Regions from separate parts of the Homo sapiens genome. Here region 2 is linked to region 1. Evidence: promoter capture Hi-C in 16 types of primary human blood cells and fetal thymus (Javierre and others, 2016). All regions are on one chromosome and are shown on one strand. The core of a region is centred on a gene start or on the middle of the fragment in contact, and the rest is flanking DNA. Distances in the headings are between cores, read along the strand shown.

The links. The method cuts DNA at HindIII sites, captures the fragments that hold promoters and counts their contacts. A CHiCAGO score of 5 or more calls a contact.
Region 2: a fragment that was not itself captured here is called in contact with the fragment with the promoter of MRPS16 in region 1 in 1 of 17 cell types (fetal thymus); the score reaches 6.6 in fetal thymus.

The regions. Positions count from the first base shown.
Region 1 is chr10:73,249,424-73,255,960 of GRCh38, forward strand. MRPS16 (mitochondrial ribosomal protein S16) reads right to left here and starts at 3,221. Exons shown (of 3, transcript NM_016065.4): 1 at 3,047-3,221; 2 at 2,340-2,600; 3 at 1-1,568. The coding sequence starts at 3,059. The coding sequence ends at 1,429. It overlaps CFAP70 (cilia and flagella associated protein 70), which reads right to left. Exons shown (of 28, transcript NM_001367801.1): 28 at 4,339-4,632. The coding sequence ends at 4,552. The region is part of intron 2 of DNAJC9-AS1 (DNAJC9 and MRPS16 antisense RNA 1); the gene reads left to right. RefSeq lists enhancers at 2,940-3,507, 2,947-3,236, 3,357-3,616 and a silencer at 6,303-6,478. The HindIII fragment of the contact is 1,832 bases long and covers 2,345-4,176 here.
Region 2 is chr10:73,806,508-73,813,044 of GRCh38, forward strand. It overlaps NDST2 (N-deacetylase and N-sulfotransferase 2), which reads right to left and starts at 5,091. Exons shown (of 15, transcript NM_003635.4): 1 at 4,967-5,091; 2 at 4,292-4,396; 3 at 877-2,222; 4 at 601-688; 5 at 150-304. The coding sequence starts at 1,881. NDST2-ZSWIM8-AS1 (NDST2-ZSWIM8-AS1 readthrough) reads right to left here and starts at 5,313. Exons shown (of 18, transcript NR_182658.1): 1 at 4,967-5,313; 2 at 4,292-4,396; 3 at 877-2,222; 4 at 601-688; 5 at 150-304. CAMK2G (calcium/calmodulin dependent protein kinase II gamma) reads right to left here. Exons shown (of 23, transcript NM_001367534.1): 23 at 5,994-6,537. RefSeq lists silencers at 4,526-4,595, 4,896-5,605. The HindIII fragment of the contact is 756 bases long and covers 3,526-4,281 here.

The DNA.
Region 1 (6,537 bases), core at 1,971-4,470:
TAGGAAGGAAAAGATACAAGAAGTAAAATGCAACACTCATTACAGGTTGTCAACATTATTGGTATACAGTTTATCCTAACACAGAGCAGCCTTCTTAACCTGCTCCATAAAATTACCAGCAAGAAAGAAAAGTACAAGAATAAGGTTCACAGCTGAATTGGCTTGGTGTCCTAATTCCCTATTCCAGTATTCTCAGAAGGATCCCATCTATGATATATGCAGAAATCACAGCCACATTTGAATGGTTCAATCTTGATTCATACTGAACTCCCTTAAGCCCAGCAGTTTCTCATTCTTAAAAGGTAGGTTATTAGAGCCCCAAAGCAATTTTCATAACAAATCTACCTTTGTATATTTAAGAATATGCATTAAGGCTAGGAGTGGTGGCTCACGCCAGTAATCCTAGCACTTTGGGAGGCCGAGGTGGGCAGATCACAAGGTCAGATTGAGACCATCCTGGCCAACACGGTGAAACCCCATCTCTACTAAAAATACAAAAATTTGCCCGGGCGGTGGCTCACGCCTATAATCCCAGCACTTTTGGGAGGCCAAGGCGGGCGGATCACGAGGTCAGGAGATCAAAACCATCCTGGATAACATGGTGAAACCCCATCTCTACTAAAAATACAAAAAAATTAGCTGGGTGTGGTGGTGGGCACCTGTAGTCCCAGCTACTCCTGGGACTACTCGGGAGGCTGAAGCAGGAGAATGGCATGAACCCAGGAGACAGAGCTTGCAGTGAGCCGAGATCGCGCCACTGCACTCAAGCCTGGGCGACAGAGCGAGACTCCTCTCAAAAAAAAAAAAAAAATTAGCTGGGTGTGGTGGTGCATGCTTGTAGCTCCCCGGCTACTCAGGAGGCTGAGGCAGGAGAACCTCTTGAACCCAGGAGGTGGAGATTGCAGTGAGCTGAGATTGCACCACCGCACTCCAGCCTGGCAACAGAACAAGACTCCGTCTCAAAAAAAAAAAAAAAAAGAGAATATGCATTAGGCAAGACAATATAAACCTCCAATTACAAAAATCAATTAAGAAAGGTTAACTGTTCTTGCACTTGTGGGATGAACATGAAGATCTGAATGGGCCATGAATAGTCTGGCTGGGGGTTTTGAAGCAGGAAGTCTTGGAAGCCAGTAAATTGTAAAGTTGTCCAAGAGACCCAGAGCCCAACTCAAAAGTCCAATCCTCCCATAGCCACTGTCTATCCCAAGACAAAGTCGAAAAAAGCTAATTAGTACCCACACCCAGCTCTAAGTCACACAAGAACAAATCTCTCCCTGGGCCCTGTGCAGGCCAGGCCAGAAGAGCAAGGGCAACTCAGGATACTCCATTTATTGAACTCCAAATCTAACAAAATTAAGATCGCTGCAGTGTTTCAAAAGGACCTTGACCTTGTTCCCACTGCTATGCTCACTAAAGTCAGCTCATTTATGTTTCTGTAGCCTCTGTATCTGTAGCTTCTGCATCTGTTTTCTGAGAAGCTAACAGGACTTCACGTGCCCGTTTCCTTCGCAGTCTCTCAGCATTTGTGATCATCATAGGATGCAGAGGGAAAAAGCCAGCAAGACCTAAAAGTAACAGATTTTTCACTTATTATAACACAGTATAAGCCAATGCTTCCCTAGGAACTCTGTCTCACAGAACTGAGGTCTGAGATCTGACCCAGTGCATGGATGCAAACCATGCTCCTCACTTGCCAAACTCTGTACTACTTCTCCCCGGCAAGGAGACAGTGGATGTCTACTTCCCTAACAATATTCCCCTTACTTTAAAAAACGTAAACTGACAGATGGCCATTCAAAACATACTATTCCTATTTTTAGCATAAAATACCAGTCACCCAAAGTCTTACAAAGGAGTCCACAAAAGGGGCCTCCAGATTCAAAATGCCAATTAGATCACAACTTCAGCTCCCACTTCAGTCCTGAACAGCCTAGAGGGAATGAAATAACTCTTTTTTTTTTTTCTTTGAGATGGAATCGCCCTCTGTTGCCCAGACTGGAGTGCAGTGACGCGATCTTGGCTCACTGCAACCTCCGCCTCCTGGGTTCAAGCGATTCTCCTGCCTCAGCCTCCCCAGTAGCTGAGACTACAGGTGCGTGTCACCACGCCCAACTAATTTTTTTTTTTTATTTTTAGTAGAGACAGCGTTTCACCATGTTGGCCACTCTGGTCTCAAACTCTTGACCTCAGGTGATCCGCCCGCCTCGGCCTCCCAAAGCGCTGAGATTACAGGCGTGAGCCACCGTGCCCAGCCGAAAATCATTCTTACACCTACTGTCCTGGAGCTGACTTCAGTTTAAAATCCCCTCAATAAGGTAAGACCAGAGCTGAGTTACCCAGAAGCTTTTCCATAGGCTTAGAGAGGTGGGCCCCGCAGCCAATCCAATGACGGATCCTGTCTAGGTTGAGGGCAACGAGTTTTTCTCCATGACTGTTGGGCAATGGATCATAGGAGCCCAGCTGCTCTACGAAACGGCCATCCCTGGGACACTTGTTGTGAGCAGCCACAATGCGGTAGAACGGCCGATTGGTGCAGCCACCCAGGGCAAGGCGGATGGTTAAGTGGCCCCCACGGTAGGCCTTGCAGAGGAGAGTAGCTGTAGAAAAGCAGCTGGTTAGGACACAAAAAACAGCACAAAAAGGACAAAATGACACAGACGGCACAATTCCCTTTTCCCACTGAAATGTCTCACTTCCAATCCATTCCTGTCAATCCAGTTTAGATGCTACTCTTCTTTGTGAAACCCCTCTTGGCCAGTCCAGCCAGCAATGACCTCCTCCTCATACCCAAACCCACCCCGCATGGGCTTGCCATTCACTAGGCTCTGTGACCTTGTCGGAGCCTTAGCTGCTTCAATGGGGTGGAAATTTTTCAGCGGTGATTAAGTGGGGAAAAAACTGAGAGAAGGATCAAATGTAAGGCAGTGTGGCTGCTTCAGGTTCGGGTTGCCTCCATCGCGCCTGGGAGAGCTCTCCCCACCCGGCCCCGAACTCCCGAGCCCCGTGACCGCCCGGAACGTCTCGCGGTGGCCCGATGACTCACTGAGGTGGACCATGGTGCCGCCGGCGTGCGGCTCCTCGGAGAGCCCCGCTACCCGCACGCACCAGCTCTACGGCCTTGGCAGGGCAGAGAACAAACACAGAAAGAACCTGCAAGCCGACACCAGGCCGCACCGCCAAGCGGTACAAGCCCGAAAACCTCGACTCCGGAAGCGGATGATCCGCTCGCCACGCCTCCTCCGCTTGCCGCCCTATACTTCCCACAATGCAACACGGTGACCCCTAACGTACCTTAAACTGCTGCAAAAGAGGCGTTTCTCGTGGTGTCTTGTGGGAGTGGCGGTGCGATCCCTCTCAGACTTGTGAGTCCCTGCTGGAGTCAGAAGTTTTAGGCGAATCCCAGGCGCGCCAAGGAAAGTGCTACAAAAGCCATCCATCTTGCAAGCGTTGGTGCCGAGGCGCAACGCTGAGAACGCAAATACTAAAGGGCGCTGTTCTTTCCTCGTGGAGCTCACAGTCCGCTGGGGAGACCGTGAGATGACAGCAGAGAAACTAGCGCGATCAGTAGTACTCAGCGCAAGGACAGCGAGCAGAGAAGGCAAACCTAGTGCTTGCTAAGGAAGACTTCACAGAGGAGGTAGTGTCAGGGCCGAGACTAGGAGAAGGATTGTAAGTGACTAGATTTTACTTTATCCTTCTCGTTAACCAAAATTAATTTACCTCTCACCTTTTCTCCTGTTGTCGTCCCACCCCTATCGAGGCAGTCACACCTTAAAAAAAAAAGGAGGGGTTATTCCTGCTTTTGCCGTGCTGTGATCCAGGGCAGAGGTGAAGTATGATTTTTTTTTTTTTTATCTGTAGCCCTAGAATATGACCTCGGTGATGAGGGTAACGGTGTCTCCTTGGAGCCCTAGTGGTTTAGATCCATGAAGATGCCTGTGTTTGGTGAGAAGGTGTCAATAGCTCCACCTTCAGCAAAGACCTCTCTGTTCAGCTTTTTCGTTTACTGTTAGTTCCAAAGGGCTAGCATGCTCTTTGCCCTAATACAGTGACCCAGCATAGCAGTCTTCCTCCAGGGCCACCTTTGAAAATGATGCCTTAATTCCTGTATTTCAGTTAACTGAACCTGTCCAGAAACCTTAGCACCTGACTTCCTCCAGGAGTGATCCAATAAGCTTTCATCAGAAACCCTAATAATGACCCCACTATACCTTAATTTTATTGTATGTATATATATGCCATATAATTATTATAGCAATTACACTATAGTTATTTATATAACTAAATACCTACATGTAACTCAGTATACGTTAACTCCAGAACCATGCTGATGAATTTTGAGTTTCATATCTCCATTTTTTTATTGTGACCCAGTTTCTCGTCAACCAGTAAAACATCCAGTAACACAGCCAATGGAAATAAATGAATGGGTCTCTGTTTATAGTGAAGATTCTTTCGTTCTCCAGCTCCAGGCTTCATACGGTAAAACTCTCTGGGAAGGAAAGGAACTCAGAGTCCCATGCAGAAAATTGTTCAGCTGGAGGGGTATCAGAAAGATGGATTTCCAAAGCCAACTGTTTCCTGTAGTGTGTGGATCTCTGCAAGCAGAGCCTCATCTTTCAATTTCAGCTACATGAAAGAGGAAGAAAGGGAAAGATATATGTCATACGTGATATACTTTATGTGGCTTTGAAGACCCCTCTTTTGTGGGGCTACGGCTAAAGAACATAGTTCCCTGGGATGGAATTGGCTCTTCCTATTTCCCTACTTCATGAAAACTCCAGTAGAAGACCTTAGAACCTTGTCCTGGTTACATGGATATGTTTACTTTGTGAAAATTCATCAAGCACTATGCACGGTCATGATTTGTACATTTTTTTGTAAGATAACTTCATTAAAATTTACTTTTTTTATTTTTAAAAAGTGTTCACATTATTACCAGCATCTCTTGGCTAATGCATAGTATTCCCATCTGGCAAGTGATATCAGGGAATCAGAGACAGAAATCATAGGCTTATATTAGATCTGGTTTTAGTTTTAGAATCTAGATATGTAGTAGAGACATCTAGGAGCCTACAGAATACCTATTTTTTCTTACTAACAAAATCTTAATTTCTTTTCAAGGCAGTAATGCAGTCAGCTAAAAAGCCACATTTTCCTGCTTCCCATGCAGCTAGAGGTAGTCATGACCAATTGCCACCCAATGAAATGTAAACTAAAGTCATTGGGTAGGACACCTGGAGAAGCCCTTTATTTAGGGAAAGTCCTTTAAAGGGAACTGAAGTAGCATGGCCCCTTTTTCCTTTTCCCCTTATTGTTCTTTATCTTGCCTGAAACATGAATATGATAGTAAGCTACGCTGGCTGTCTTGCAACTATGAGGGATAGAAACTGCAGGCTACAATTGGTGGAGCACAAAGATAGATTTTGGGTCCCTGATGACATTGTGGAGCTGCGGTACGAGCCCTGGACTTTTCATTAGATGAGAAAAAACTAATTTGTTTAAACCACTGTCTTTCAAGTCAAGTTACTTGCAATTCATAACTAATAGAACAGGCCAGGCATGTTGGCCCCCACCTGTAATTCCAACAGTTTGGGAGGCTGAAGTGGGCGGATCACTTGAGACCAGGAGTTTGAGACCAGCCTGGCCAACATAGCAAAACCCTGTCTCTATGAAAAATACAAAAATTTGGCCAGGCGTGGTGGCTCACGCTTATAATCCCAGTACTTTGGGAGGCCGAGGCGGGGGGATCACAAGGTCAGGAGATCAAGACCATCCTGGCTAACACGGTGATACCCTATCTACTAAAAATACAAAAAATTAGCTGGGGGCAGTGGCGGGCGGCTGTAGTCCCAGCTACTCAGGAGGCTGAAGCGGAGAATGGCCTGAACCCGGGAGGCGGAGCTTGCAGTGAGTGGAGATTGCGCCACTGCACTCCAGCCTGGGAGACAGAGCAAGACTCCATCTCAAAAAAAAAATTCAGCTGGGCATGGTAGCACATACCTGTAATCCCAGCTACTTGGGAGGCTGAGGCACAAGAATCACTTGAACCGGGAGGTGGAGGTTGCAGTGAGCTGAGATCGTGCTACTGCACTCCAGCCTGGGCAACAGTGCAAGACTCTGTCTCAAAATATATATGTATATGTAACTGATAGAACAGACCAGGGGTTGTTCATGAGCCAATCCAGCTCACTACCTGTTTTTGTTTGTTTGTTTGTTTTTGAGACGGAGCCTCAGCCTCCAGAGTAGCTGGGACCACAGGTGCCCACCAAGACGCTCGGCTAATTTTTTTGTATTTTTAGTAGAGACGGGGTTTCACCATGTTAGCCAGGATGGTCTCCATCTCTTGACCTTGTGATCTACCCACCTCAGCCTCCCAAAGTGCTGGGATTACAGGCGTGAGCCACCATGCCTGGCCACTACCTGTTTTTTTGTAAGTAAAATTGTATTGGAACACAGCCATTCACTTATGTATCACCTATAGCTGCTTGTGTACTACAAGTGCAGAGTTTAGTAGTTGCAACAGACTGTTTG
Region 2 (6,537 bases), core at 2,654-5,153, 560 kb after region 1:
TGAGGTTTGGGGAGTAGAGGGTAAAGAGGGTGGGGAAGCCTCCAAATAAAGAAAAACGCAAAGGATAGGAAAAGGGTAGCCCATTAGGGGAAGGTAGAAAAGGAAGCATGGCTGGGAGAAATTATGGGGAAGAGATCCAAGGGTCTCACCAGAGCAAACTGTTTGTTGAGCCTCATCTGGTCAGCCAGCACGGAGCGATTGTGGAACAGGTGTGGCTGCATGTGGCTCCACATGTGGGGGAACCACCAGAACTCTTTGCGGTGCTTCAGCAGCATGTCGTCCCCTGCATCCTCCTCCTCTGTCCCTATGACCACACGCTGACCACTGACCACAGCCAGTCAGCCCCTGTTCCCTCCTTTATTTTGTAACAACACTGACCACCTTCCATCCCTGATCCTTGCCTAAGACTTTCTATTTGCCCCACTGCCAACTTGCCATCCAGCCACCCATGCGAACCTAAATTCATGCCCACCACTAGCTCCTCACAGCAGTCTGACCCCAAACCTTGACCCTTTTCTTCAACTTGTCTGCCCAGGGAGGTGGACAGTGAAGGGACAGGTCAAACTATGATATGCCAAAGGAGTAGGGGTATAAGCTCACCAGTATGATAGAACTTGCCCGAGAAGCCCAAGTTGAAGGTGAAGTTGGGAACTAAGGTCCTGAGTTTGTTCTGGGTGGTCAACAGAGCCTGGGAAGAGTAGCAGGGACAAGAGAAATCAGGAGAGCAGACTGAACAGGAAATACATGAGAAGTAGCATTCTTCCTGCCTGGAAAGGCAGGGAGTGTACCTATGACAAGCTCAGAATCAAGGAAGGGAGTCTGACAGGCCAGAGTGTGAATAGCTTCTAAGAAAAAAATTTAAGTAACAAGACTGACCTCAACATCAGCCACCTTCATGCGGGTCCCTTCCTTGCCCACAAAGATGTCATCGATGTCTACCAAGATGTAGCGGTCAAGGTCCAGGCAGAGGCGCTTGCCAGTGAGGTATGCAACAGCATCAACGAAGATAAGTTTGTGGAGCCAGAAGGAAAGGCCATGTCCAAAGAGCACCCGCTGGATGCCATCATGAAGCCCCAGGTCCTGTACCACAGTGGGAAGCCGGGCCCGACGAAGAACTGGTCCTGGCACTGCGGGCTCAGCTGGCCGAAGGCTGGCAAGAAGCACTGGTTCATATGTACTATGATTGGATTGGAAGATGGTCCAGTCATCACCAGGCAGTGGCCCTGGTTCTAGGCGGCTGGGGCGTGTGAGATGCAGTAGCGGGGCAGAAGGATTCACTTGGTAGTCCCGGAGCCCCAAGTTTGAGTGTAAAAAAAGGGGAAAGCCCTTGAGCTGGGCGCTCAGTAGGCTGTGCTCGTGGGCTCGGAAAAAGCCAATGATGCCCACACCATACTCCACGCAGTACCGGTCTAGCAGTTCCCGACTCCAGGCATCCAGGTTGACATACTTGAGCAGGTTCTCATAAATGACCAAGACATAGCGGCCATGGGTATTATCAGTCAATGTGGGCATGTCCCCTCGGCCAGGTGCCAACTCAGTGCTATAACGAAAACGACTAGACTCCAGGATGGCCACAATTTCCTGCCCCAGCTGTGAGTATGCACTCTCCACAAACACAAGGACCACGGGTTCAGTTCGAGCTGTCTCTGGAGGCCTGGGGGGCCGAGGTGGAACTGGAGGCCGTGCAGGGCCAGGACCAGCTGCCCCACCGCTGCTGCAGTCTCCCAAGGGCAGGGGCAAGGGTTCCTTGGCCTTAGGGCTGGTGGACACATAATAAGCCAGGAAGCCCATGGAGCCCAGGCTGAAAGCGATCAGCAGCAGTATGAGGCGGTGCAGTTCCAGCTGCCGAGCTGGGCGTACCACCTTCCACAACTGGAGCATGGCGGGGGGAGGAAGGGAGGGAGGAATGGGGACCACCTCAGGGGATGGGAGGTAGGAGTTCTATAGGCTAGGACTGTCTTGGAAGGGTAGAAGGATAGGAAAATAGGGGACAGGGATTCCCTTGGGGAGTTTCCTTTACGAGGTGGAGACGAGTCCCCTTAGCATAGGGTAGGGGAGGTAGAAGGGGAAGCAGGGGGCAACTATACAGAGTCCACTTGTCTCAGGTCACCATGGCCCCCTGGCCCATGGCTTCAGGCTGCAAATCTTGCCAGGCTCTCCCCTTGGCCCTGGCTGAGCGCCTCACATCAAAGGTCAGCAAAGTTCAATCTCTTCCCCTCTACCTGTAAGACAGAGAAATCAGTGGGTTACTCCTCCCTCTGAAATTGTCATTAATCCATTCTCCTCCCCATCCCATCTCTCTTACCTCCTGCTTACTGGATAATCTGTTCTCAAAAAAAAAAAAAAAAAAGTTTCCTCTAGGAGAATCTACAAGCTGAGTCCTATACCTTAGCTTCACAGCTTGTTCCCTTTCCCTTTCTTAGAATACCCAAATGAATGTCCAAATTCTCCTCTCTAAGCAAAGCTCAGAGATGGAGCAGTATATGCAAATGATAGGAACAAATCTCCCATCAACAAGAGGCTAAATATCCTAGAAGGCTAAAAACAGGCCTGCTCTGAAAGGAGTTCCTAGCCCATGACCGAGCAGCTGGCAGCCAGCAACAGCTCTGATCTTTCTGTGAGGAAGGGACGGAAAGCCCCGGAAGTCTTCAGAAGTCCCATGCTCCAACAAAATATCAGATAAGGAACTCATGAGTCTGTTAATCTTCTCATCAATCAAACCCAATATCACAGCCAACAGCTTTAACGAACTTGCAGTCAGGTGGACACTATGGTGGGGGAGTTCAAAAGGAAAGAGCAATCCTCATGATAGGTAATCATTCTACCAGTTTCCAAACCCAGAAATTAGGGACTCCCTTACCCGTTGCTTGTGAAACATTACCTGCCCCTGACCTTCACCTCAACTTTGCCAGTCAGGAGATAAAAATGTAACCCCTGAGCAGGCCACACACTGGGTGCTGAGAAAAGCCATACAGCTGAGTCCACTCTACTTCTCCTTCCTAACTTAGCCTAAGTAGTTCTACAACCCTATTCCTAAACAGCTCAGAAGAGTCCCTGAGCTAGTCTGGAGAGACATGAGGTATTGAGTCCAGTTACACAAACAGAACAACTTGAGTAAGGACTGGATGACAGAGAGCAACAGGAGCTTAAGTCACATCCAACCAATGACAGAAGGAAAAAGGACAGTGTGATCAGAAAACAGTTTTAAGGAGGTCTAATTTTGGGGATCTCTTTTATTATTTTTAGATGGAGTCTTGCTCTGTCACCCAGGATACAGTGTGCTAGTGTGATCATAGCCTACTGCAGCTTCAAACTCCTGGGCTCAAGTGATCCTCCCACCTCAGCCTCCCATGTAGCTGGGACTACAGCTTTGCACCACCACACCCTACTAATTTTTAATTTTTTTTAGAGATGGGGGTCTTGTTACGTTGCCCAGGCTGGTCTTGAACTCCTGGGGTCAGACAGACAATCCTCCGGCCTCAGCCTCCTGAGTCTGTTCTTTTTCTTAAATCGACTGCTTCTGTAAGCTTTATTGTCACTATCCCCACTCAGCCTCCTTGTAAGGCTGGCAATCCCTCTCTACCACCCACCCCCAAACACACATCTCAGGGGTGATAAGGCAGAGCTGAGGTCCTTCAGAATTGACAGAGATGATTTAAAAACAGTTCAGGACAGGCGTGGTGCCTCACGCCTGTAATTCCAGCACTGTGAAAGGCCGAAGCGGGTGATCACTTGAGGTCAGGAGTTCGAGACCAGCCTGGCCAACATGGTGAAGCCCCGTCTCTACTAAAAATACAAAAATTAGATGGGCATGGTGGTGGGCGCCTGTAGTCCCAGCTACTCAGGAGGCTGAGGCAGGAGAATCACTTGAACGTGGGAGGCGGAAATTGCAGTGAGCTGAGATTGTGCCACTGTACTCCAGCCTGGGTGACAGAGCTAGACTCCAGCTCAAAAAAAAATAAAAATAAAAATAAAAATAAAACAGTTCAGCTTTGGCCTAGGTAAAACGACACGAGAAGACAGCTGGGGGAGAGGATCAAAATGGTGACGGGAAGGGGTGAATGCTAAGAATGTGATGCAACTTTAGAGAAAACATTGTAGTGAGGAGGTCACTGACGGGAAGTTGATACTCAGGGTGTATCATCCCGTATTTGAGAAATTACAACTTGCCAGCCATTCTTCTAAGAGCTTCACATATATTTAATCTTCACACCAGCCCTAAGAGGTAGGGAAAAGGTACATGCTCCATTATCCCCATTTCACATATGAGTAACTCAGAGAAGCTTAGAACCTTGCCCAGGATCACACAGCTCAGTTGGTGGGAGGGCTGGGATTCGACGTCAGGCCTGTCAAGCTCCAGAGCCGCGTTCTTAGCCGCTGCATTTTAGCTTCATACCTGGAAGAAGCAGCAAGGTTTAGGGAAGGGGCGCCGGGAGCGCCGCAGGCCGGGCCAGTGAACACTGAGGGCCAGCAGGGCTGGGCGGGGTGGGTGTGTGCGGGAGATCTCTGAGGACGGCGAAGCCAGACGGGGGCCGGGGCCGGGCCCGGGCTTGGGGAGGCCGGGACGGCCGGAGCAGCGGCGCGGAGGCTGCGGGCGCCGAGGGGGCCCGGGGCTGGCGGGTGGAGGGGCCCCGCCGAGAGGAGACGGGGGCACAGGTGGATGCGAAGAGCGCACCGGATGTGGGACACCAAAGGGGAAGGGGCCACAGGCGCGCGGCGGCGACTCCGGGGTGACATCGAGACAGCCTCTGGGCTGGGAGAGCCCTGCGGGAAGAAGGGAGCCCGCCCGGTCCGGAGGGGAGCGAGGCGGTTCTGAGGGAGGCCGGCGGAAAGGACCCGGGGCGCGGCGCACGCTGGGCCGCCCGGGACGACCCTGCGGGTGGTGATGGTGGCAACATCCAAGGGAGTCTGTTGGGGGGGCCTGAGCGCGACCGTGGGCGGGGGGGTCTCCTCAGGGGCGGCTCACCCGGAGGACTGGGCGGCGTCCCCGCTGTCCCCGGGCTCCGCCGCGTCCCGGGGCTGCCCGGCTTCCCTGCTTTCGGGGCCACGGGCCGCGTCGCGGCTGCTCCGCCATCTCCGAGCGAACGCTCTGCCGCAGCCTGGCCCAACCACCGCTCCCACCGGGGGAGGCGGCGCGCCGCCGCTGGTGGCACCCGCTCGGATCCACCGGCTCCGGCCCTAGCAGCCGCGCGACCTGGGTTCCGGGAAATCAAGCGGCCCTCCGCAGTGCCGGGCCGAGCCGCGGCCTCCGAGACGGCGGGCTCCGCGCCCCGCCCGCGGAAGCGCACCCCCTCCTCTCCGCGCGATGGCACTGCCGGCCGAGCGTCGGGGACCACGACTTCGGAGCAGGGGCGGGCTCAGGCCTGGGCTCATCCACTCAGCCCCGCGGAGGGGGAGCCGGGCCGGCCCACTCGGGGGAGGGGAGGAGTAAGAGGCGGAGCGGCCTAACCGGAGGCGGGACCAGGGGCGGGGCGAGGCCCTCAGCCGGCTCCCAGGGCACTCACCCTCCCTCCCCGCCCCGCGTCGCCTGCGCAGCACCGAGCGCTGTTTGGAGGCTGTTTATGAGAAGTTTTTTTTTTTTTTTTTTTTTTTTTTTTTTTTTTTTGAGACGGAGTCTCACTCTGTCGCCTGGGCTGGAGTGCAGTGGCGCGACCTCGGCTCACTGCAACCTCCCCCTCCCAGGTTCAAGCGATTCTCCTGCCTCAGCCTTCCGAGCAGCTGGGATTACAGGCGCCCGCCACTATGCCCAGCTAAATTTTTTGTATTTTTTAGTAGAGACGGGGTTTCACCATATTAGCCAGGCTGGTCTCGAACTCCTGACCTCGTGATTCGCCCGCGTCGGCCTCCCAAAGTACTGGGATTACAGGCATGAGGAAGTTTTATTCTCAAAAGTACCCAAAGGGAGTAGGAGGAGGTACTCTCTCCAACCTGGTAAGCCAGGCTGCTAAAATCTACGCCTCTGGCCGTAAACCTCCAACAGCAGTAACACAATGGACTGTTTAAAGGTTATTTTATTAAATATTTTCAGTTCAAGGTTTCATTGTAACAAAGCTATGAAGGGTCTACCAACATTCAGAACAAACACTATTTTTAAATTATTTCTATGTTGTCATGCAAAAATTCTGCATCAAATGCCTTCCGTTTCTTGTTTAAAAGGTGATTTTTTAATAGTCTATTGTCTATAGATGCTGACATTAGCCCCAGAAGAGGAGTAAGAATGCTAAGAAGTGGGGCTGGAGCAGCCATATGAAGCTATGGGTCTCAATGAATTCTAAGACCATTTGTCTTCAAGCCAGCAAAACGAAACCCTGTGGTGAAGGGATTTGCGTGCTGGCACTGCAGACTGCAGGGCAGGAAAGGGCTAGGGCCCAGGGGCTGGGACATGCATGAGGTGCTCGGAGGAGCCTGGCTAAATCCAAGCACCAGCACCTGTGAGTCTGCTCTCTTCTCAGCTGGCTCCCAAGTAAACCTGTAGCTTTGCCTCTTCTCCCAGCTCTCGTGCCTCCTGAAGGTAGTCCAGGGAACTGGAATCTACCC